Linked DNA regions of Homo sapiens: all the other regions are linked to region 4. Evidence: promoter capture Hi-C in 16 types of primary human blood cells and fetal thymus (Javierre and others, 2016). All regions are on one chromosome and are shown on one strand. The core of a region is centred on a gene start or on the middle of the fragment in contact, and the rest is flanking DNA. Distances in the headings are between cores, read along the strand shown. Region 1 has its middle 9.9 kb from the start of KRT8. Region 2 overlaps KRT79 (keratin 79). Region 3 has its middle 21 kb from the start of KRT78. Region 4 holds the start of KRT7 (keratin 7). Region 5 has its middle 19 kb from the start of KRT18. Region 6 has its middle 17 kb from the start of EIF4B. Region 7 has its middle 3.5 kb from the start of KRT18.

Region 1 (2,991 bases), core at 1-2,500, 680 kb after region 4:
AATTTTCAGGAGGGCAGAGGTGCATGATGATAAGCAGGTGTTTTTGAGCACGTGTCTTTATATGCATGTATCCATATAAATACAAAGCACACATGTTTGATGGGTTATCTCCCAGAACAAACAGCCTCACAGGCCCACCCCCCACCCTGTGGGCACACAACCTCAGCCTATAGCACACACGCCCTCTTGTCCCTCACACACTCTCTCAGGTTCACACACACCCCACCTGCCCTCTCACTTGCATGGCCTGACGCACACGCCAAGGTGCAGTACCACCTCACATCCTCATCTCAGGCACAAGCATGTGCGTGTACCACCCGTCAGAGTCCCGTGCACACCACCTTCCTACGAACGTCACACACATACCTGTGCACACACAGCCATATATAACACACATCCAAACTCAAATACACGGTTACAGGTTTGTTTGTTTTTTCTTTTATACAGACAGAGGTTTCACTATATTGCCCAGGCTGGTCTCAAAATCCTGGCCTCAGGCTGAGAGAGGTGGCTCATGCCTCTCTAATACTAGCACTTTAGGAGGCCAAGGCCAGCTGATTACCTGAAGTCAGGAGATCAAGACCAGCCTGACCAACATGGTGAAATCCCGTCTCTACTAATAATATAAAAATTAGCTGGGCATGGTGGCAGGCACCTGTAATCCCAGCTACTCGGGAGGCTGAGGCAGGAGAATCGCTTGAACCCAGGAGGCAAAGATTGCAGTGAGCCAAGACTGCCCTATTGCACTCCAGCCTGGGCGACAGAGCGAGACTCTGTCTCAAAAATAAAACAAACAAAACAAAAAAAAAATCCACCGGGTGCAGTGGCTCACGCCTGTAATCCCAGCACTTTGGGAGGCCGAGGCAGGCGGATCACCTGAGGTTGGGAGTTCGAGACCAGCCTGACCAACATGGAGAAACTGTCCTTACTAAAAATACCAAAAAATTAGCATAGTATGGTGGCGCATGCCTGTAACCCCAGCTACTCAGGAGGCTGAGGCAGGAGAATTGCTCGAAGCCAGGAGGTGGAGGTTGCAGCGAGCTGTGATCATACCATTGCACTCCAGCCTGGGCAACAACAGTGAAACTCCGTCTCAAAAACAAACAAAAAATCCTTGCCTCAAGCAATCCTCCCACCTTGGCCTCCCAAAGTGCTGTGACTCCCAAAGTTACAGGTGTGAGCCCCAGCTCCCAGCCAAAGGATACACATTCTTGATTGCAAGTGGCTGAAACCCAACTCAAACAGACTTAAGCATAAAAAGATCATTTCTTATAATTGAGAAGTTCAAGGGTGCATTTGGCTTTCAGCCTAGCCAGATAAGGGGCTCAGTGATATCATCAGGACCAAGACTCTCTTCCTGTCTTTTGGCTATTTTCCTCCATGTTAGCTTCGTCCTCGGGCAGGCCATCTCCCTGCTGCAGGAAGGGCGACCACTAAGGGAGCACCTCTTTCCCGATGCTTCCTGCTGAAGTTCCAGGGCTGACTCTCCAAGGCTGATATAGGTCACATGCTCATCTCTGAACCAATCCCTGTGGCCAGGGGAATAGAATACTATCATGTTGACTAGACTAGACCACATAACAAGACCCTGTGGAGGGGTGATCAGCCCCACCCAACCTATAGAGAAAGGGGAAAAAAAATGTGATTTGGGCCAGGCGCGGTGGCTCACGCCTGTAATCCCAGCTCTTTGGGAGGCAGAGGTGGGCGGATCATGAGGTCAGGAGATCGAGACCATCCTGGCTAACACAGTGAAACCCCGTCTCTACTAAAGATACAAAAAATTAGCCGGGCGAGGTGGCGGGCACCTGTAGTCCCAGCTACTCAGGAGGCTGAGGCAGGAGAATGGCGTGAACCCCAGGGGACGGAGCCTGCAGTGAGCCGAGATCTCGCCACTGCACTCCAGCTTGGGCAACAGAGCAAGACTCCATCTCAAAAAAAAAAAAAATGTGATTCACCAAAAGACCAGGAAGAAATGCTGGACAGGGCCAGGAACCATGCCTCACGCCTGTAATCCTAGCACTTCAGGAGGCTGAGGCGGGTGGATCACCTGAGGTCAGGAGGTCGAGACCAGCCTGGTCAACATGGTGAAACCCCATCTGTACTAAAAATACAAAAAAATCAGCCGAGCATGGTGGTGCATGCCTGTAGTCCCAGCTACTTGGGAGGCTGAGACAGGAGAATCGCTTGAACCCAGGAGGCAGAGGCTGCAGTGAGCCAAGATCCCACCACTGAACTCCAGCCCAGCCTGGGTAACAGAGCAAGACTCCGTCTCAAAAAAAAAAGAAGAGAAAAGAAAAGATAAACAAATGCTGGACAGGCAGAAACAACAGATGTTCACTACATATGCTAACCAAAATGTACACCAATAAAGACGTGGAACCAGAGAAGCCAGGTATAAAGATATCCGTGTACACACCGAGCCCTTCTATAAATACAAATACTACCTGGCCAAAGTCTACCTTCTGTACCTTATCAACGGAATATTGATTTCAGATAAATAAATGATTCAGATGTATGCTATAGGACTTCAGGGGAAGGAGAGAGCCCTTAGATCAAGCTGAGCTTAGGAAAGTAAGATATGGATGGAAAGATCTGGAAATGTGATAAGCCACTGGACAGGAGCGGGATTCCTATGGAAGAGTAGAAAAGCTAGATATTGGGGAGGAGGGTGGGACTAGGGGTTTCAGAGGCCAGACAGAGCTTTTTCTGCAGGCTGCAGGAAGGGAGGAGCAGGATGATGAGCTTAAAGCAGTGCTTTAGGAAAATTAAGCTGGCTGGGGTGTTCAGGATAGATGGTAGGGGCAAAAACTAGGGGCAGGAGACTAGAAAGGGGGCTACTGCAGAAAGCAGGTCTGGAGGCCTGCAGTGTGGTAGGAGCAGGAAGATAGGGATGGACTCAAGCTAGAACCAACAGGAGGTGGCAGTTGACTGCATGGGCGTGAGTCCAAGGTCACTCAGCTGCACTTCTAGCAGCTCCCTGCTGAACCCTAG
Region 2 (2,927 bases), core at 420-2,919, 590 kb after region 4:
AAGCAAAATAACCTGGTGCTTAAGAGCTTGGGCTATGGAACCAGATTGCTTGGATTCCACACCTAGCTCTGCTACTTCCTAGCTGTGTGACCTTAGGCAAGTTACTTAACCACTCTGTGCCTTATTTTCCTTATAGGCAAAATTAGAATGATAATAGTATTTATATTATAGGCTGTTGTGAAGAGAATCAGTTAAAGGCTTGACAGCAGTTCTGGCACACAGTTGGCACTCAGTGAGCATTAGCAAGTATTCCTCAAAGTGTTGTACATGGGGTGGACTATACTCCATCTGTCTGAGAAGGGAAGCTAGAGACCACCCAAGCTGGTGAGGCAGAGCTGACCCTAAACCGCTAGGCCTTTGTGTTCCTAAGCTGGAGGTTAGGGTTTGGCTGAAAATCCCTCTGCTGGCCTTCCACAGCCCTGGAGGAAGCTTTCTCAGGGCTCTTCGGGGCTCCTCTGAGGAGGACAGAGTGATCAGGCCGGAAGAGTGTGGGATGCATCCCAGCAACTGCCAGGAGCCCTAAGGTTGCCAAGGAAGGGAGCGGAGTGGTGACAGCCTCGGGTCGGGCCAACTGGTTTGGTAGCAGGGTGGGGAGGGCCTGAGAGGTGCAGGGTTGAGAGGCCAGCCAATTGGGGAATCACTTGGGTACAGCTTGAGGAGTGGGGTCCAGACTCAAAGTAGAGAACTGTGGAGATGAAGAGGAAAGAAGGTGATACCAAGAGACGCATGGAGGGAGGAGCAGTAAGATTTGGCGAGTGATGGAGGCAGGAGTAGGACGGAGGTAGCTTCTGGGGTGACAGGACAGAGGGCTTGAAATTGCAGCCCTGGACACTACTGACCCACCTCCAGCCAGCTGGATGACTACAGCATGAGAGGTCACTTCTGTGAGCGTGAATCGCCTCACCTGTAAACTGGAACACCACATGCCCACTACTGAACCTAGGGCTGTGGTGATGGTCACAGGCAAAGTAATGTATGTGTAAACCACAAAACCCAATTAAGTGTGGATTTTTCTTGCCGACTGGATGTGGGGGCTGAGAGAGACATCACTGAGGCCAAGAGGATAAGCTGGGAATCCAGAAGTCAGGGAGTGGGAAAGCAAAGAAACCTGATTCCTGAAAGGGCCTCTATAAGCCAGATGCTTTACACATGTTCTTATCACAACCCACTTTTACAAAGGAGGAAACTAAGGCTCAGAGAGGTTAGGTAACTTGACCGAGGTCATACAGCTAGTAAGTGGCAGAACTTGGATTTAAACCCAAGTTGCCTAGTTCTGAAGCCTAAGACCTCTCCACTGAACAAAGCATGCTGTCTGCCCCTACAGAGTTAGTGGGAGGCTGAACAGGCACCAGGGGTGGCTGGTTAATAGGCAGCCACTTAGCCAGGTCTGGCCTTGAGCAGCTTACATATTCCCTCTGAGCCTTGGTCTCCTCTTGTGAGCCATGTACAGCCCTGGAGTGGCGATGGTATCAAACTAATGTACCTAAGTAAGCATGGCGATTGGGATGTGGTGAGTGTGTGATTATTGCTGTGTCAGGCATCAGGATGTTAATCAATGGACACAATTTCAGTTCCCCAGGCAGGACAGACTGCAGCCACAGACAGCTAGCTGCAGTTGCACCATTTATTGAGACACAGACAGGGAAGGGGGATGTGGGTAGATTCAGGGAGAGGGTGGGTCTGGTGGGGGACTGGGGAGGTTGAAGGGTCTTTGGGGACCACTCCCAATTTCTCTCTCTCCTAATGGCTTGAGAAATTCAGCCTCCTCTCGGTGGTCAAAAGGTCACCCCCAAGTCACCCAAGCACATCACTCAAGCTGGCAACTTTAACCTTCCCTCCCATCCTACTGCAGGACCAAGGAGAAAACCTGAGTAGATTTGAGCGCTTCCCAAGATGCAAATAGTCTGGTATGAAAATACCCTGGGTCTGAGGTCCCCTGGCTGTTCCTGCTCCTGAGAAGTGACTGGAAAGGACAGCAGAGGTGGGGTGAGGAGGGCAGGGACAGGATTGCAGGGGCCCTTGCAGGGCTCAGCAGCTAATACCTCTGGCTGGACGTCTTGACCGTAGTGGTCTTCCGCAGGATGGAGGTGCCCGCAGAGACTGGCCCTCCCTTGACGGTGCTATAGCCCACATTTGTGCTGAATCCACCCTTGGTGGCCCCCCCACTCCCACCCAGGGAGATGCCACCTCCAAAGCTGGCTGCGCCACCTCCGCACACAGTGGTGGAGTTGCCAGTCACAGCTGCAAAGCAAAGGGTCTGGATTAGTCAGGGCGGCCATGCCAGAGAGGGCTGGGGGAGACCCAGAAATCAGTGGGGAATCAGAACAAAATCAAGCAGCAGAGCTATGGGAAATGGATAGAGAAGCCCAGAACTAGGACCCTCTGAACCTGTCTCCAGGGGCTCGAATGGAGGAGAGCATGCTTTAGGACAGGTACAGGTTGCATAAACTGAGCAGAGTTCTGGGGCCTGGCCAGGGGTGGAGCAGGAAGTGGGGAGTAAATACTCACAAATGCTGACTGCACTGGGACATTCTCCAGACATCCTAGGGGACACAGAAAGGCCAGGAGAGCAGTCAGTTATCCCTGGTGCCCACATGAAAACCCTCTCCTTCCCTCTGCCTTTACATTGGATCCACTCAGTGAATCCTGATGACAAGACCAGGAAACATGAGAAGTATGTGTATAGGGCTGTGCCCAGGTCCAAAAGCCAGTGCTGCAGAAAGGGCAGAGCCACCAGTAGGCTGTGCCAACTCCCATCCTCCCCTTTTCTTTCCTCTCTGCCCATGTGGGCTACGGACAGCATCCCTGCCCCAATGGAAACAAGCCCACGACCAGACAGAGCTGCCTAGTTTCTGCCCACTTTCTATTTCATGCTTTTCCTAAGGACAGAGATGGTGGATTTTTTTTTCCAAAGCTTCCACTGCTGG
Region 3 (2,760 bases), core at 23-2,522, 640 kb after region 4:
TAGTGACTCATGCCTATAGTCCTAGCTACTTGGAAGGCTGAGGCAGGAGGATCACTTGAACCCAAGTGTTTGAGGCTGCAGTAAGCCATGATCGCACCACTGCACTGCACTCAGCCTGGGAGACTGAGGGAGACCCTGTCTCAAAAAAAAAAAAAAAAAAAAAAGAAGTAGAATTATCACTTAATGTTCAACTACTACATGCCAGGTGCTTTACATAGCATACCTCTGATTAATCGCATATTATAGATGGGGAAACTGAGGCTTGGTTGTCCTAGATCACACAACCAATAGTGGCAGAGTGAGAATCTGAACCCAGGACTATCTGTAAAGCATTTCTCAGGTCTATGCCTGCATCTGTCTGTTCTCCAGCTGGAATAGCCACCCCTCCACCAGAGGGGATGGAGGAATCCAAAGAGAGAATGCACTCAGGCCAGATGGGGCAACTAGCAGAGCCATGGGCTGGGCAGCTGGTGAAGGCTCCAGTGAAGGGGAGTGTAAGGGGCCTCGGGAAGAAAGGGAGAGAGATTGTTAAGTGAAAGAAGGGATGAGGAGGGGGGCCAGGCCTCTGTGCCACCTGATTGAGAGGGCAGGCGCATGGTTGCATGCAGTGTGGGAGGGAATAGGGTGCAGAGATGGTGGAAAGGAGGCCTGTGGCTGAGCCCAAGTGCCTACTTCCCTGTGCTGTCACTGCCCCAGGGAGGCCTGGGCCATTTGCCTCAAAGCCAGTGGTGGGCCAGGGGCCTCAGACCCCAAGGAGTGTACATGCTGGGAGCTTCCTGAGCAACCAAGAGCCTCCAAACTCTGGAACGTGCCAGGGTTTCATTCCTGGAGCCACCTCATTCCCAGCCACAGAGAGGAGTGCTCAAGCCCCAAGGGTCTCCAGGGAAGAGAAACTCAGTGGGACTCCAGAGTGACCAGCCAAGAAGGTTCCCAGAGGGGGAACAGAGAAGAGGGGCACCTGGCTGGAGATTCAGGAGACAGGAGATGGGCAGGGAGCAGGGAAGGTGCGGAAAGCAGCAGAGACAGCAGGGGAGGGGAAATGAAGAATGTGCGAGGAGGAAACTGGAATGAAAGTGCCAGCTGGGGCTGGAGCACATCACTTTGAGGAGGAGACAGAGCAAACCTCACCTAAGGCCACCACCCCCAGCCCCATCCCAGCTTCCCCAGGCCCTGCTAAGTGCCAGGAAGAAGCAGTGTCAAATGCAAGGAGGAGCAGGGCGTCAGTTCCCCACAGCCCCTTCCAGGTCTCTGGAGCTCTATTCCGGAAAGGAGAGGGGAAAAGTGTCACTTGAAGCCCCCAGGCCTCATGAAGGCCTTTTGCAAGAGGGAGGCACAGAACTACATCAAACCCCCTTTAAAAGTTTCTTGGCAAGCCTGACCCACCACAGGGTAATAGGCTGGTGCTGCCACAAAGGGGACTGAAGTTAGGTGACTACAGCCATCTCTGAAAGGACAAAGTCAATATACAGAAGGACTAGGTCCAGGGACCCTGGTCAGGCAGGGATAGGTGGCCCCATGGAAGCTGGGAAATAGTCAAAATGTCTTCTCTAGATCCCCCTCCCACATTTGACCCTCTGCCCCAGTCTTTTTGTGCCAAACCACAGCCCAGAGTCCCCATTCTCTGGGACCTCTCAGAGGAACTCTGCTCTCTAGGTGGTGGGGGTGGGGCCCCCGTTACATTATTTTCAGACTCACTAAACACCTATTAATTTGTAGGGGGCAGGAAGACTGGGAAACACTAATCCAACCCCATGGGAGCCATACAGAAACCATATGAAAAAATGAGGATAATGGTCCCTGCCATGGGTTATAGTGACAATTGAGGTTTCCAAGTACTTAGCACATGCCTGGCGCAGTTGGTTACTTGTGGGGAGGGGCAGAGAAACGGACCCTAACGCACACAGACAGGTAGAGAAGAGGCAGACAATTGCAGGGCTGCTGGAGACAGTGCCTGGGCCCAGACACCCTCTGGCACTGGCCAGGCTCATTTGCATGTCATTTGCATGTGCTCTGACACTTGTCACTCCTGTCGCTTCAGAGCCTCTGGGTCACACATTGTCTCTGTCCCTTCCTCATGTCACTTCCTGGATTCCCAAGGGCTGAGGGGACCCCACAGAGAGAAGAGAACCCCGAGTCTGGGGGTCAAGGAGCCTGAGGGAGGACCCGGAGTCTGAAAAGGGTGGGTGCTTTGGCCGCCTGGAAGCCTGGCTTAGGGCGACCCCTGCAGGGCAATCCTAGAATGGAGGGAGGAGGCGGAGAGGTGAGCTCGGGCTCCCCCCAGCTCCCAGGGCGGCACCAGCCTGGCCCTTTTACCTCCAACACGCCCTATGCTCCCTGGCACCCTGGAGTCTGAAGGCAGTCCACCGACCTGGGCCAGATAGAATCCAGAAACTCACAGCTGCCCCAATTAGCTAAAACAAAGGGGGTCAATGTGGGTTGTACCAAGCATCAAAGCAGGAATATCTGGGGGCTCCAGGCCATCAGCAACACCATCCAGATACCACTGGACCTGCACCAGTGCCTACCCTGGGTGCCACAGCCCCATCCTGCCACCCAGCACTGGAAGGGATTGTGATTTTAACTGGGGAAGAATTTAGGGAACAGAGAGGATTGTGAGGGACTGGAGAGAACCTCACATAGCCTGTACTGAAGGTGGACCCACCAAGGTTTCTCCAGCTGGGGTCCCATCCACAGAGGACAACATCGGTGGGAATAGACTGCAGCTGGCGGGATTGAGGTCAGGCCAGGGAGGGAATCCCC
Region 4 (2,987 bases), core at 34-2,533:
CCCCAAGGGCTTAGGTCTGAGGTAACGAACCTGGCCAGCTTATTGGGAGGGGCTAGAGGTGGGCTAAGGGCAGACGGAAGCCAGGCCTGAGAACAGGGTGTGGCAAGCATGGCTGGCCCTACCGGGAAGTGAGGCCAACACTCAGGCTTTGTCCGGTATTCGGTTCCAGCACTAGGATTACCCCTCTTGACTGGGTTTGAAACTGCTGGGAATTGTTTGGTGGTGGCTTCACGGGAGAAAGATGATGAAAGCTGAGGGCCTTTAAACAGGAAAATGGTGGAGGGAGCGGGAGGAGAGTTGAGTGCTAACAGAAGCACACGCACTCAGGCAGGCATGAAAATGTGTGCCATTGTGTAGCCACAGCTGCCCCCTCGCCCAGGATGCACGCACAGACCCCCATCTGTGTAAGCAGGCTCAGACATGCGGGTGCATATGCCTGGGGGTGTGAGCACAGCAGAGCCCAGAGGCCTGCAGGCGTGTGCACACATCCACAAAGTGTCCACACATCCACAAAGTGTCACAAATACACACAAGTGTCCCCTTCCTGTACAGGGACGCATAAAATAAATGGGCAGGAATATGAGTGGAGGGTCCGGGAGGTGAGGGTCCAGGGTAAGCATTCCCAAGGTCCCTGGGATTCCGATGCCTACTGGAGTGGGGAGGGGAGGAGCCAGAGGTGCGGTCGGTCGTGTGTCTCTCTCAGCCTAGTTTCTATGGGAAATGAAGTAGGAAGGAACGCAGCCAGGGAAACTAGCTGGGCCAGGAGGGGTCAGACCCCTGAACAAGTGAGCTGATCTCTCAAGGAGGAGCTGGATCGGTGTGAGGGAGAGCGGTAAGGAATGCCTTTCTGGCTTCAGCAGCCTGGAGGATGGGGACGTCTGGGCGTTGACTCCTGGGTTGGAACTTTTCAGCCCACCCCTTCCCCCAGTCTCTTGCCACTGGGTCTCTCTGCTTGGGCCTCAGGGATCTCTAGGTTCTTCACTCCCTCTCCAAGCATCCTCCTCCGGGAAGCCTTCCCTCACTGAGTCCGTTTCCAATGGGCTGGAACTGCGGTCCCCCGCTGTTCTCTGCGGCCGTCTAGGGATGGCGCTCCTGCCTACTCCGGACCATCCCTGCTTGGACTGAAAGCCTGGGCTTCGGCGGGGCGGGCGGGCAGAGGGCGGAGGGCGGCCCCAGGAGGGGCCTGGCAGCAGAGAAAGGTGGCCCGCGGCAGCCCCGCCCCTACCTGTGGAAGCCCAGCCGCCCGCTCCCGCGGATAAAAGGCGCGGAGTGTCCCCGAGGTCAGCGAGTGCGCGCTCCTCCTCGCCCGCCGCTAGGTCCATCCCGGCCCAGCCACCATGTCCATCCACTTCAGCTCCCCGGTATTCACCTCGCGCTCAGCCGCCTTCTCGGGCCGCGGCGCCCAGGTGCGCCTGAGCTCCGCTCGCCCCGGCGGCCTTGGCAGCAGCAGCCTCTACGGCCTCGGCGCCTCACGGCCGCGCGTGGCCGTGCGCTCTGCCTATGGGGGCCCGGTGGGCGCCGGCATCCGCGAGGTCACCATTAACCAGAGCCTGCTGGCCCCGCTGCGGCTGGACGCCGACCCCTCCCTCCAGCGGGTGCGCCAGGAGGAGAGCGAGCAGATCAAGACCCTCAACAACAAGTTTGCCTCCTTCATCGACAAGGTGAGCGGGACTGGACCTCGCCTCTCCTCGAGCCGCGCTCCAGACCACACCAGCCGCCCTAACTAGCCCTGCCTGCGCGCGGGCCAGGCGCTGGGGAGCACTGCCGCCCTTCTGTCTTTCCGCCAGTGTTGGGGACACGATCTGGGGGTCCTTCCTCCTTCGCATGAACCCCGTGGCTATTTTATCCCCTCGGTTTCCAAGCCCTCCCTTCCAGCAAGCTGCCCAGCTGCCCCTCCCTTTCCTCCCGGAGTGCGGGCCTGAGTCCTGTAGGGCTGCCCTCGCTGGCTGCCTGTTGGTCACCTGGACCAGTTTTGCCTCGGACTAGGAGTTCCAGAGGCCTAGGCCAGGAGTTCTCTCTCTGGGACCCTTTCCCTGAGAGAGGACCGTGTGGAGTCAGGAATGGAGTTGGATGGCACGCCCTTCCCAGAGGGGGAGACCCAGGCTCTCTCAGATGCTGATGCGGATGCAGATGCTGGAGATTAGAGCGGCAGTCGGTGGGGCGGGGGAGGGGGGGGGGCTCCCGCCCCTCCCCTCCCCCACCTGCCTGGTCCTCCAGCCTCCCTTAGGTGGCAGGAGGAGAGGTTATACCTGCCCTTGAAGACAGCCCAGTTGGGGGCAGGGAGTGGCAGAGAGGGCCCTCAAAAAGGGGTCCATTTTGGAGATATTTTTCCTGGCTGTTGGCCTCCGCCACACATGGGGCCGCTGGAGGGGGCGAGGGCAGACTTGACTGGTGGGTTTGGGAGGAGTGCTGCCAAAGCCAGGAACTCAGGGCTGGCCCTGCTGGGCTGTTCTGGCCAGGGCCCCCTTCCTCAGCTTAGACGAAGTGTACTCCCACACCCGCCTCCCTCACGTTCTCCTTTCCTTCGCCATTCACCCAGACCGGTCTTTTAGATTTCATAGGGGCCTCCCCAAGCTGCTCCAGGCCCAGGTTCCCCCATGTGTTGAGCTGCACCGTCTTACTCTCTGTGGTCCCCAGGGCCTGGGGCCCTGAGCTGCTGGTTTTGCAGAGGCCTCTATTGCCTCCCACCTCCAGTCATACCGGCTACTCCTTAAGGGCCTTTGTGGGCTCCAGGCTGGGGTCATTTTACCATGGATTGACTGTCCTGAGGCCTTGCTGGAGAAAGGGGAAGGAGAGAAAGGATATTGAGGAAGGAAGAGAAGAGGTCCCAGACAGAAGGGAGGGCTGGGCCTGGTCATCCTCATGATCCATTGACAGGAAGAGGTGGCTGTTCAGATAGGGAGGTGGAGAACACCACCTGTAATGTGATGGGGAGTGAAGTGGAGAGGAGGCCCTGGAGCACATTCGTCGAGAGTCAACCACGGGGC
Region 5 (2,877 bases), core at 300-2,799, 740 kb after region 4:
TGTCTCAAAAAAAATAGTAATAAAAATAAAAATATACTTACCAGCTCGGTGTGGTGGCTCACACCTCTGATCCCAGCACTTTGGGAGGCCGAGGTGGGTGGATCACCTGAGGTCAAGAGTTCGAGACCAGCCTGACCAACATAGAGAAACCCCGTCTCTACTAAAAATACAAAATTAGCCAGGCGTGGTGGTGCATGCCTGTAATCCTAGCTACTTGGGAGGCTGAGGCAAAAGAATCACCTGAACCCGGGAGGCGGAGGTTGCAGTGAGCCAAGTTTGTGCCATTGCACTCCAGCCTGGGTGACAAGAGTGAAACTCCATTCTCAAAAAAATAAATAAATAAAATAAAATAAATAAACAGATGGTTCAAGTTTGGCCTCTCCCAGTAGGAATCCTCTTTGTGGCCTTCCTAACATCTGGCCTCCGTTTGAAGAATTTATGACAGTATAGCCCCTGTTGGATAATAATTGTATAATTACTGGAACATTATTGTTCCTTCTACTGGGCTGAAATCTGCCTCCTACTAACCTTCTAAACTCAGCTCTGCCCACTAGAGTTACACAGAACTCCCTCTTCCATTAGATTTCAGCCATAAGTGATTATTCTTCCCCTAACCTGTATAAAAGCAGCCCCAGTCACGGTGTAAGGATTTAGCTGCACTGCTGGCCTCAACCTCACCTGCCTGAATGAGCTGGAAAATAATTATCTACACAGAAACAGCCCAAGGAATTAGAATGATAGTGATGCTCAGATCCGGGGAGGCTGTGTCCCCCTGAAGGCCCTGGTCAGATCCTGGTGAAGTGGATGGTGCTGCCACAGGAGGGATGTAGGGTAAACTTCTCAGAGACTCAGGGCACTCCAGTGATCTGGGCCCAAAGCACACAGTTCCTTTTCCTCTCCCCACAATCCACACTGGAGCAGCAGGCTCTAGTGGGCCCCTCCCAGGCTGGCAGAACTTTCCCTATCACCCACTCCCCAGAAGCAAAAAAAGTTTAAAAAGCACCAGCCTAAGGCTGGGTGCAGTGGCTCATGCCTGTAATCCCAGCACTTTGGAAGGCTGAGGCGGGCAGATCACAAGGACAGGAGTTCAAGACGTGCCTGACCAACATGGTAAAACCCCGTCTCTACTAAAAATACAAAAATTAGCCAGGCATGGTGGTGCATGCCTGTAATCCCAGCTACTCGGGAGGCTGAGGCAGGGGAATTGCTTGAACCCGAGAGGCAGAGGTTGCAGTGAGCCAAGATCATGCCATTGCACTCCAGCCTGGGCAATGGAGCAAGACTCCGTCTCAAAAAAAATAAATTATTGTACATTTAAAAATAACTAAAAGAGTATAATTGGATTGTTTGTAACATAAAGGATAAATGCTTGAAGTGATGGATGCCCTGATGAGATTATTATGCATTGTATGCCTGTATCAAAATATCTCGTGTACCCTAAAATAGATACACATACTGGGTACCCACAAAAATTAAAAACTTTTTTTTTTTTGAGACAGAGTTTCACTCTTGTTGCCCAGGCTGGAGTGCACTGGCTCAATCTCGGCTCACTGCAACCTCCGCCTCCCAGGTTCAAGTGATTCTCCTGCCTCAGTCTTCCGAGTAGTTGGGATTACAGGCGCCCACCACCACACCTGGCTAATTTTTTTTTTTTTTTTTTTTTTTTGGATTTGGAGTAGAGACGGGGTTTCGCCATGTTGGCCAGACTGGTCTCGAACTCCTAACCTCAGGTGATCCACCTGCCTCGGCCTCCCAAAGCGCTGGGATTACAGGCATGAGCCACCAGACTCAGCCAAAATTAAAAACTTTAAAAAATAAATTAATAACCACAGCAGTAGCTAGTAGCTAATGGCTACCAGATTGGACAGGACAGTGCAGCACCAGACTGTAAGCTCCCTTTGAGCAGAGACTGGACTATCTTGTTCACTCTTATGCCCTGATACATAACACAATTCCAACACATAAACAGCAGGTTGTTATTTTCTTTTTTAAAGACAAAAATTTGAAATTGTAATTTTTATTAAATTGTAAATAAAATGTTATTTTATTTTATTTAATAACCTATAGCATTTGCCAATATCCAAGGTATAAATACTGCTGTCATGGTTGATTTAAAATGGTTTAATTCTGGGAAGCAAAATTTTCAAATTTAACAATCTTCTCTTACTAGCTTTTGAATGAATAAGCAAATGAATGAACAAATAAATGAGCAAATAACAAACCAAGAGGAGTCTCTGCATGCCTCACCCAAGGAAAAGAGGACAAAGGAGAGTAGAAGAATATTTCAAGATGCCAGCAGTCCTCTCACTCTCTTTGCAGGTCCTCTTTGTTCCAGGAAAGAGAACTTAGTGGGAGAACAATTGAACTTCCTCAGCTTCGCTTCACACACACCCCAGCTTTAAGAAAGCCCAGGAAGAATTTGTTTTTTTTTTTTTTTTTGAGACGGAGTCTTACTCTGTCACCCAGGCTGGAGTGTAGTGGCGTGGTCTCGGCTTCTCAGCTCACTGCAACCTCCACCTCCCAGATTCAAGCGATTCTCCCGCCTCAGCCTCTCCAGTAGCTGGGATTACAGGTGTGCACCACCACGCCCAGCTAATTTTCGTATTTTTAGTAGAGACAAGGATTTCACCACGTTGGCCAAGCTGGTCTCAAACGCCTGACCTCAAATGATCCACCTACCTCGGCCTCCCAAAGTTCTGGGATTACAGACATGAGCCACCTCACCTAGCCTTTGGATTACAGACATGAGCCACCTCGCCTAGCCTTTTTTTCTTTTTAAGGAAAAAAAGAAAAATAAAATCTCATCTTAATCTGCTCCATTTTTTTTTCTTTTTAAAGAAACTTTCCCAAGTCACTTAAACAGTCTTCGTAATGGGA
Region 6 (3,082 bases), core at 400-2,899, 760 kb after region 4:
CACTCCAGTCTGGGTGACAGAGTGAGACTCCATCTCAGGAAAAAAAAAAAAAAAAAAAAAAAGAAAGAGAAGAAAGAAAGGGAGGAAGGAAGGAAAGAAAAAGGGAAAGAAAAAAAGAAAGAAAGAAATGTTTGTAGGTTGGGCGCAGTGGCTCACGCCTGTAATCCCAGCACTTTGGGAGGCCATGGTGGGCAGATCATGAGGTCAGGAGTTCGAGACCAGCCTGGCCAACATGGTGAAACCCCGTCTCTACTAAAACTACAAAAATTAGCCAGGTGTGGTGGCGGGTGCCTGTAGTCCCAGCTACCCGGGAGGCTGAGGCAGGAGAATCGCTTGAACCCAGGAGGCGGAGGTTGCAGTGAGCCAAGATCGTGCCACTGCACTCCGGCCTGGGCAACAGAGCGAGACTCCATCAAAAAAAAATACAAAAATACAAAAATTAGCTAAGCATGGTGGTACATGCCTGTAATCCCAGCTACTTGGGAGACTGAGGCAGGAGAATTACTTGAACCCAGGAAGCGGAGGTTGCAGTGAGCTGAGATCATGCCATTGCACTCCAGCCTGGGTGACAAGAGCGAAACTGTGTCTCAGAAAAAAAAAAAGAAAGAAAGAGATGTTTGTTGTTGGCCGGGCGCGGTGGCTCACGCCTGTAATCCCAGCACTTTTGGAGGCCGAGGTGAGTGGATCACCTGAGATCACCTGAGGTCAGGAGTTCGAGAGTAGCCTGGCAAACCTGGTGAAACCCCGTCTAAAAATATAAAAATGAGCCAGGTGTGGTGGTGGGTCCCTGTAGTCCCAGCTACTCCGGAGGGCTGAGGCAGGAGAATTGCTTGAACCTGGGAAGTGGAGGTTGCAGTGAGTCGAGATTGCACCAGCCACTGCACTCCAGCCTGGGCGACAGAGTGAGACTCCGTCTCAAAAACAAAAAAGAAATGTTTGTTGTTTAAGCCACCCTGTCTATAGTAATTTGTTACAGCAGAACTGACTAAGACAGACACAAGATCAAGGTGGGAGAAAGTGTAACTTGACCCAGCTCTGTGATGAGTTTATCCATAGCTCCTTCCTCTATTACATTTACCTTTGATTTGTCTATTAGATAATACTCCACTATTTATATATTCATTACTCATTTATCCACAGATATACAATAAAAACATTAATCAGGTGAATTACTTTCTTATCAATACCTGCCAAGAAAATACAACTAACTATAAATTTGTAATAAACTCCCAAGGGGCAGAGGTTGGGTTTTTAGTTGCTTCTCAAACATACCCCATCATTCAAAAGTCTGAACTGGAAAGTAAGAAGGAAAAGAAGGAGAACTTTAGTATGCTAGTGTCAAACAAGCCTGTCCTAATAAGCAACCCCAAACTGCTCTCCTGTCTGGGTCCAGAATTGGGTTTGGTTTTGAAATACCACGTGGGAAATTTCTAGCCAAAGTCCTCACCAGTTCCTCCTTTGACTAACAATCTCCAACCCAGGAAGTGGGAACTACAGAGTCTTTGGTAGAGGTGGTTGGATTTACTCAAGAAAAAGCCCCACCTGAACTCCCCAAGCAGAAATCTTCATTAGAAAAATAAACAAAACGACCGGGCGTGGTGGCTCATGCCTGTAATCCCAGCACTCTGGGAGGCCGAGGCAGGCGGATCACGAAGTCAAGAGATCGAGACCATCCTGGCCAACATGGTGAAACCCCATCTCCACTAAGAATACAAAAATTAGCTGGGCGTGGTGGCACACGCCTGTAGTTCCAGCTACTCAGGAGGCTGAGGCAGGAGAATTGCTTGAACCCGGGAGGCAGAGGTTGCAGTGAGCTGAGATCACACCACTGCACTCCAGCCCAGTGACAGAGCAAGACTCTGTCTCAAAAAAAAAAAAAAAAGTAGAAGAACATTAAAAAAACAGGTTTAGGCTGGGTGCAGTGGCTCACACCTGTAATCCCAGCACTCTGAGAGACCAAGGCAGAAGGATCACTTGAGGCCAGGAGTTTGAGATCAGCCTGGGCAACATAGCAAGACACCCATCTATACAAAAAATTTTAGAAGTTAACTGGGTGTGGTGGTGCATGCCTGTAGTCCAGCTACTCAGGAGGCTGAGGCAGGAGGATTGCTTGAGCCCAGGAGTTCAAGGTTGCAGTAAGCCATGATTGCACCACTGCACCCTAGTGTGGGCAACAGAGCAAGACTCTGACTCTAAAAAACAACAAAAACTGCTGGACGTGGTGGCTCATGCCTGTAATCCCAGCACTTTAGGAGGACGAGGTAAGTGGATCACCTGAGGTCAGGAGTTTGTGACCAGCCTGACCAACATGGCGAAACCCCATTGCTACTAGAAATACAAAAATTAGCCAGGCATGGTGGTACACACCTGTAGTCTCAGCTACTCAGGAGGCTGAGGCAGGAGAATTGCTTGAACCCAGGAGGTGGAGGTTGCAGTGAGCCAAGGTCGCACCACTTCACCTCAGCCTGGGCAACAGAGCGAGACTCCGTCTCAAAAAAAAAACACACACACACACACACACAAAAACAAACAACAAAAAAAAACCAAAACAGAAATGAGGTTTACATGTTACAAGGCCCTGAAGAAGAGGAAAAAAACTGTGTATAAAATACCACCTGGATAAAATAAGCCAAATACACAACTAAATGGGAGACCAGGCCAACAGGATGTCTTGGGAAGATGTCTTGAAGTAGGAGGGGCTTCTCCTGCAAAGGATTTGGCAAGACTAAGAGGGAGCAGGCATTCCAGATGAAGAGAATGATGAGTAACATGGAAAAGCCCAGCGTCCGCTCCGGGCCAGGCAGAAGTTGAGGTGACAGATATAGTAGGAAAAGCAAGCTGAGGGCAGTTCATGCAGAGCTTTCAATGCTGGAGAGTAGGGCCTTGGAAAGAGATGTGGTGACACAGTAAGAGCGCTCTTTCAGGGAGATTTATCCAGGAACTATGTGCTAGGTGGATGGGCGGAGATGAACTCAAGTGGGACAATTCCTGAAGCAGCACAGAGGGGAAAGGAAAGTCATAGTTAGAGCGGAGTTCATGGGGACGGAGGAGAAGGGAAGGATAGGAACCCCTACCACCTTCT
Region 7 (3,111 bases), core at 478-2,977, 710 kb after region 4:
CTGGGAAGAAAAGGAGCAAATGGGGCAAAGCAGACAGGAGGGGAGGTCAGCTGGCTTCTCAGCTGCCAAAGCTCTTCCAGGCACGTCATCTCATTTGGTCCTCATGAAAACTCTCTAAGTGGATATTACTATTTTTCTCATTCTACAGCTGAGGAGAGACCAAGCTAGTAAAGGCTGCTCAAGATCACTAAGCCAGCAGTGGGGAATATTGTGAAATATTGAAATATTTTATTATTTCATAGAGACAGGGTCTTGTTATACTGCCCAGGCTGGTCTCAAATTCCTGGCCATAAGCGATTCTCCCACCTCAACCTCTCAAAGTGCTGGGATTACAGGCATGAGCCACCTGGCCGAATCCAGGTCTTTTGACACCAAGTGCCCTATTCATCCCTTTGCCCTCCCCTAATCTCTGGGCAGATTTGAGTGAGGCGATAGGCTGGGGGATATGGCATTGGGATACTGGGGTTGCACCTGAGGAGAAGCCAACAGCACCAGGGTCAGAATGGGCAAAGGACATAAGCACAGGCAAGGCCATTCCTGGTGGGGCTGGGCCAGGGAGCTGAGGGGCTCCTAGAAGGGCCAGGTTCCCCGACTTCTCTGAGCTTCAGCGCCTGGAGGTTTCTGGGCAGCCACACGCTTCTCAGCGCTGACCCTTCCTCTTCCTTTATCCTTGGAAAATAACCCCTAGGGCACAAACCCAACCGAAGCAATGATACTAAGTGTCAGGGCATTCCTCGACTCTCCCACCCCTGGGGAAGAGGGCCTGGCCCAAGCCCTGAGAACCCGTTCCCACCTCCACAGGCAGTGCCAGGGACTCCAAATAGGGTGCTGAAATTCCAGAAGTCTTGATATCAGACTGGGTCCTGCACCCAGCTGCCACCCGCATCCTCCCCCTGCTCCGCAGCTGCCTCTGAAGCTTGTACCCTTGCCCCCACCTCTTGTCTCTCTGCAGTCTACCTGACTGCACTTTCTGATGACCCCCACTGACCTCTCCTAGCACCCCATGTTTATTAATTACTTAAACCTAAAGTATTTACGGAGCTCCACCTATGTGCCAGATGCAGGGCTGGGCAGGAGGATTCCCATTCCACCCCAGATTCCTTTTCCTTTGGGTTCTACCCCAGATCTCCCTCTGTCTCAACAGCTCTACCCTTAACTCAGCAGCCCTGGGATTTCTCCTGTGGGAGGGCCCCCTGCATGGGTATACCCTCCACTGAGAGTAGCTGAAAGGAGCCCAGGGGAGCCTCCCAGGCGATCCCTTCCTCCCTCCAGCCCACCCCACCACAGGGCCTTCTCACTGTCTCCAACACACTGGAGTCACCCTCAGTCTTTAAAGAAGAGGATGGGAATCAGTCTCTCCCTGTTTTGTGTATAGACCCCATCCTTACACCTCAGTTGCTGTTCCGAACACCTCCCTCCTCCAGGCTGAGCAAGGAATTTCCAGCCTAAATGTTAAAGCAAAGGCGGAAGGACTGCAGGCCTTCCAATCCTCCCTAATCCTCTCATCTCTCCACCACCTAGTTTCCCCAGAGCCATCAGCTCAAGCCCTTTGTGGGAGAATGTGGAGTGGGCAGTAAGAGCTGACCCACCCCTATCGGGTCATCTCTGAGTCTACTCTGAAGTTAAACCTGCCTCACAGGTTCCCACTCCCCTTCTGCTGGACGCTGGAATGCAGGACTGATGGTGGGTGGAGAACCATTTCCCCTCTTTCCGGATTCCCCCCTGCCGAGGCTCATTACTCTTTGTGTCTGTTCTGGGAGCTTCTCACCAGGGCCCCTCCTGCTCCACCCTTTCCCGGGACTGTCCTCACAATCACGCCATCCCCCTTTCCACCTTGCTTCCCACCCCCACCCCAGAACCCTAGTGCTGGGAATCTGGAGGCCGAGACCTTCACCCCAGCTCTCCAAGAGGCTCTCTGACAAAGTGAAAAAGCCCTGAGCCACAGAGGAATCTGGAAGTGGTGGAAAGGGGCAGGCTGGTGCTGGAAGCCCGAGGTCGGTATTTGCCCCATGCTGCAAGAAGTCAGGAATGTGGCCATCGACATCAGTAGGAGAGATAAAGTCTAGCTGGCAGCTCTCCCTCTCCAGCCCCCACGCTGCACCTCCACAGGTCCCAGAAGTTTCCTAGCAGTTGGGGTGGGGCAGGAATCAGACAAGGACCTGGGAATTAGCTTGGAGAAAAATTCTAGAATCTGTTTTGATTGCTGGTAGATTTCAAAGTGCCCCAGGGTTTTTAAATGACTCAGAGAGACAGACTTCAAACCCCTTGAGCCCGTCTTTCGAATTAAATTGACCCCCTTTATCTGCCCTCCTGTATATATTGAAGCCTTCCTTACTTTGAAGGAAGGCTCCAGTACAAATAATTAGTATTTGTTTGATGAATGAGTGAGTGACAATTTACACTCACATTCACTGCCACCTGAGGAAATAGACTGGACAGGTCTTACTGTTTTCCCTGTACAAGTGAAGAAATTGAAGTTCAGAGTTAGGTGACTTCCCCAAGGTTACACAGCTAGCAAAGTATCCAGGCTGGCTGACTTAAAGCTTAGCAATAACAGTAAAAGGCAGTACGTAGCTTGTTGACTCCACATACTTTATTATAAAATACTGCCCAACTTGACAGTTCTGGAATCCAGTGGGGGAATATAAAGGTGAAAGCAGGAGAGACCCCTCTGACTGGAACCTCTTACCTCCCAGAAGCCTTGTATGCAAAACCAGTGGGCATTCATTTGTATGTTATTTTGCATCCCGTTTGCCTCCCAGCCTTCAGCAGGCCCCGACCCTCCCCTGGCCAGCTTCCACCCTGACTGCCCCCTGGCTGGCTCCCATTGAGCACTGTGGGGCTCTCCCCACCATTAGGTGACAGATCAGGAACAATCCAGGCTCAGGCTCTTTATCTGTGCTCTGCCTCCCACCTGGCAGGTCCACTGGCCAGGCTTTTCCAGGGTCCCTTCTCTCCCAGGTCTGCCCTACTATTTGTCCTCCCCTTCCCCCTCAGCTGGTAGCTCGATAAGAATCAATAGGTCCACTCCAGAGCAAAGAACACAGCCAAATGTGTCATACCAGGCCCTGCCAGAAAAACGAGCTGCTGGAGCTGACAAACTTGAAGGCC

Evidence for each region. Contacts are between HindIII fragments. The CHiCAGO score rates a contact against its expected background, and 5 or more counts as called.
Region 1: a contact is called between a fragment that was not itself captured here and the fragment with the promoter of KRT7 in region 4, in 1 of 17 cell types (M1 macrophages). The highest score is 6.5, in M1 macrophages.
Region 2: a contact is called between a fragment that was not itself captured here and the fragment with the promoter of KRT7 in region 4, in 1 of 17 cell types (fetal thymus). The highest score is 5.7, in fetal thymus.
Region 3: a contact is called between a fragment that was not itself captured here and the fragment with the promoter of KRT7 in region 4, in 1 of 17 cell types (endothelial precursors). The highest score is 6.2, in endothelial precursors.
Region 5: a contact is called between a fragment that was not itself captured here and the fragment with the promoter of KRT7 in region 4, in 3 of 17 cell types (M2 macrophages, M0 macrophages and naive CD4 T cells). The highest score is 6.9, in M2 macrophages.
Region 6: a contact is called between a fragment that was not itself captured here and the fragment with the promoter of KRT7 in region 4, in 1 of 17 cell types (M2 macrophages). The highest score is 5.6, in M2 macrophages.
Region 7: a contact is called between a fragment that was not itself captured here and the fragment with the promoter of KRT7 in region 4, in 2 of 17 cell types (endothelial precursors and M2 macrophages). The highest score is 6.3, in endothelial precursors.

The regions. Positions count from the first base shown.
Region 1 is chr12:52,913,443-52,916,433 of GRCh38, forward strand. It overlaps a transcript of KRT8 not described here. Among named protein-coding and RNA genes, the nearest start is that of KRT8, 9.9 kb to the left of the region's middle. The HindIII fragment of the contact is 8,808 bases long and covers 1-2,991 here.
Region 2 is chr12:52,819,837-52,822,763 of GRCh38, forward strand. KRT79 (keratin 79) reads right to left here. Exons shown (of 9, transcript NM_175834.3): 8 at 2,509-2,543; 9 at 1,572-2,241. The coding sequence ends at 2,036. Among named protein-coding and RNA genes, the nearest start is that of KRT4, 7.2 kb to the left of the region's middle. The HindIII fragment of the contact is 2,485 bases long and covers 428-2,912 here.
Region 3 is chr12:52,868,435-52,871,194 of GRCh38, forward strand. No RefSeq gene overlaps it. Among named protein-coding and RNA genes, the nearest start is that of KRT78, 21 kb to the left of the region's middle. RefSeq lists enhancers at 1,600-2,100, 2,101-2,601, 2,105-2,154 and a silencer at 1,915-1,994. The HindIII fragment of the contact is 4,084 bases long and covers 1-2,760 here.
Region 4 is chr12:52,231,960-52,234,946 of GRCh38, forward strand. It overlaps KRT7 (keratin 7), which reads left to right and starts at 1,284. Exons shown (of 9, transcript NM_005556.4): 1 at 1,284-1,661. The coding sequence starts at 1,338. It also overlaps the pseudogene TMT1AP1. RefSeq lists an enhancer at 1,870-2,845. The HindIII fragment of the contact is 10,919 bases long and covers 1-2,987 here.
Region 5 is chr12:52,967,013-52,969,889 of GRCh38, forward strand. No RefSeq gene overlaps it. Among named protein-coding and RNA genes, the nearest start is that of KRT18, 19 kb to the left of the region's middle. The HindIII fragment of the contact is 7,174 bases long and covers 1-2,877 here.
Region 6 is chr12:52,987,648-52,990,729 of GRCh38, forward strand. No RefSeq gene overlaps it. Among named protein-coding and RNA genes, the nearest start is that of EIF4B, 17 kb to the right of the region's middle. The HindIII fragment of the contact is 7,088 bases long and covers 1-3,082 here.
Region 7 is chr12:52,944,039-52,947,149 of GRCh38, forward strand. It overlaps a transcript of KRT8 not described here. Among named protein-coding and RNA genes, the nearest start is that of KRT18, 3.5 kb to the right of the region's middle. RefSeq lists enhancers at 1-311, 1,501-2,096 and a silencer at 3,047-3,111. The HindIII fragment of the contact is 1,627 bases long and covers 915-2,541 here.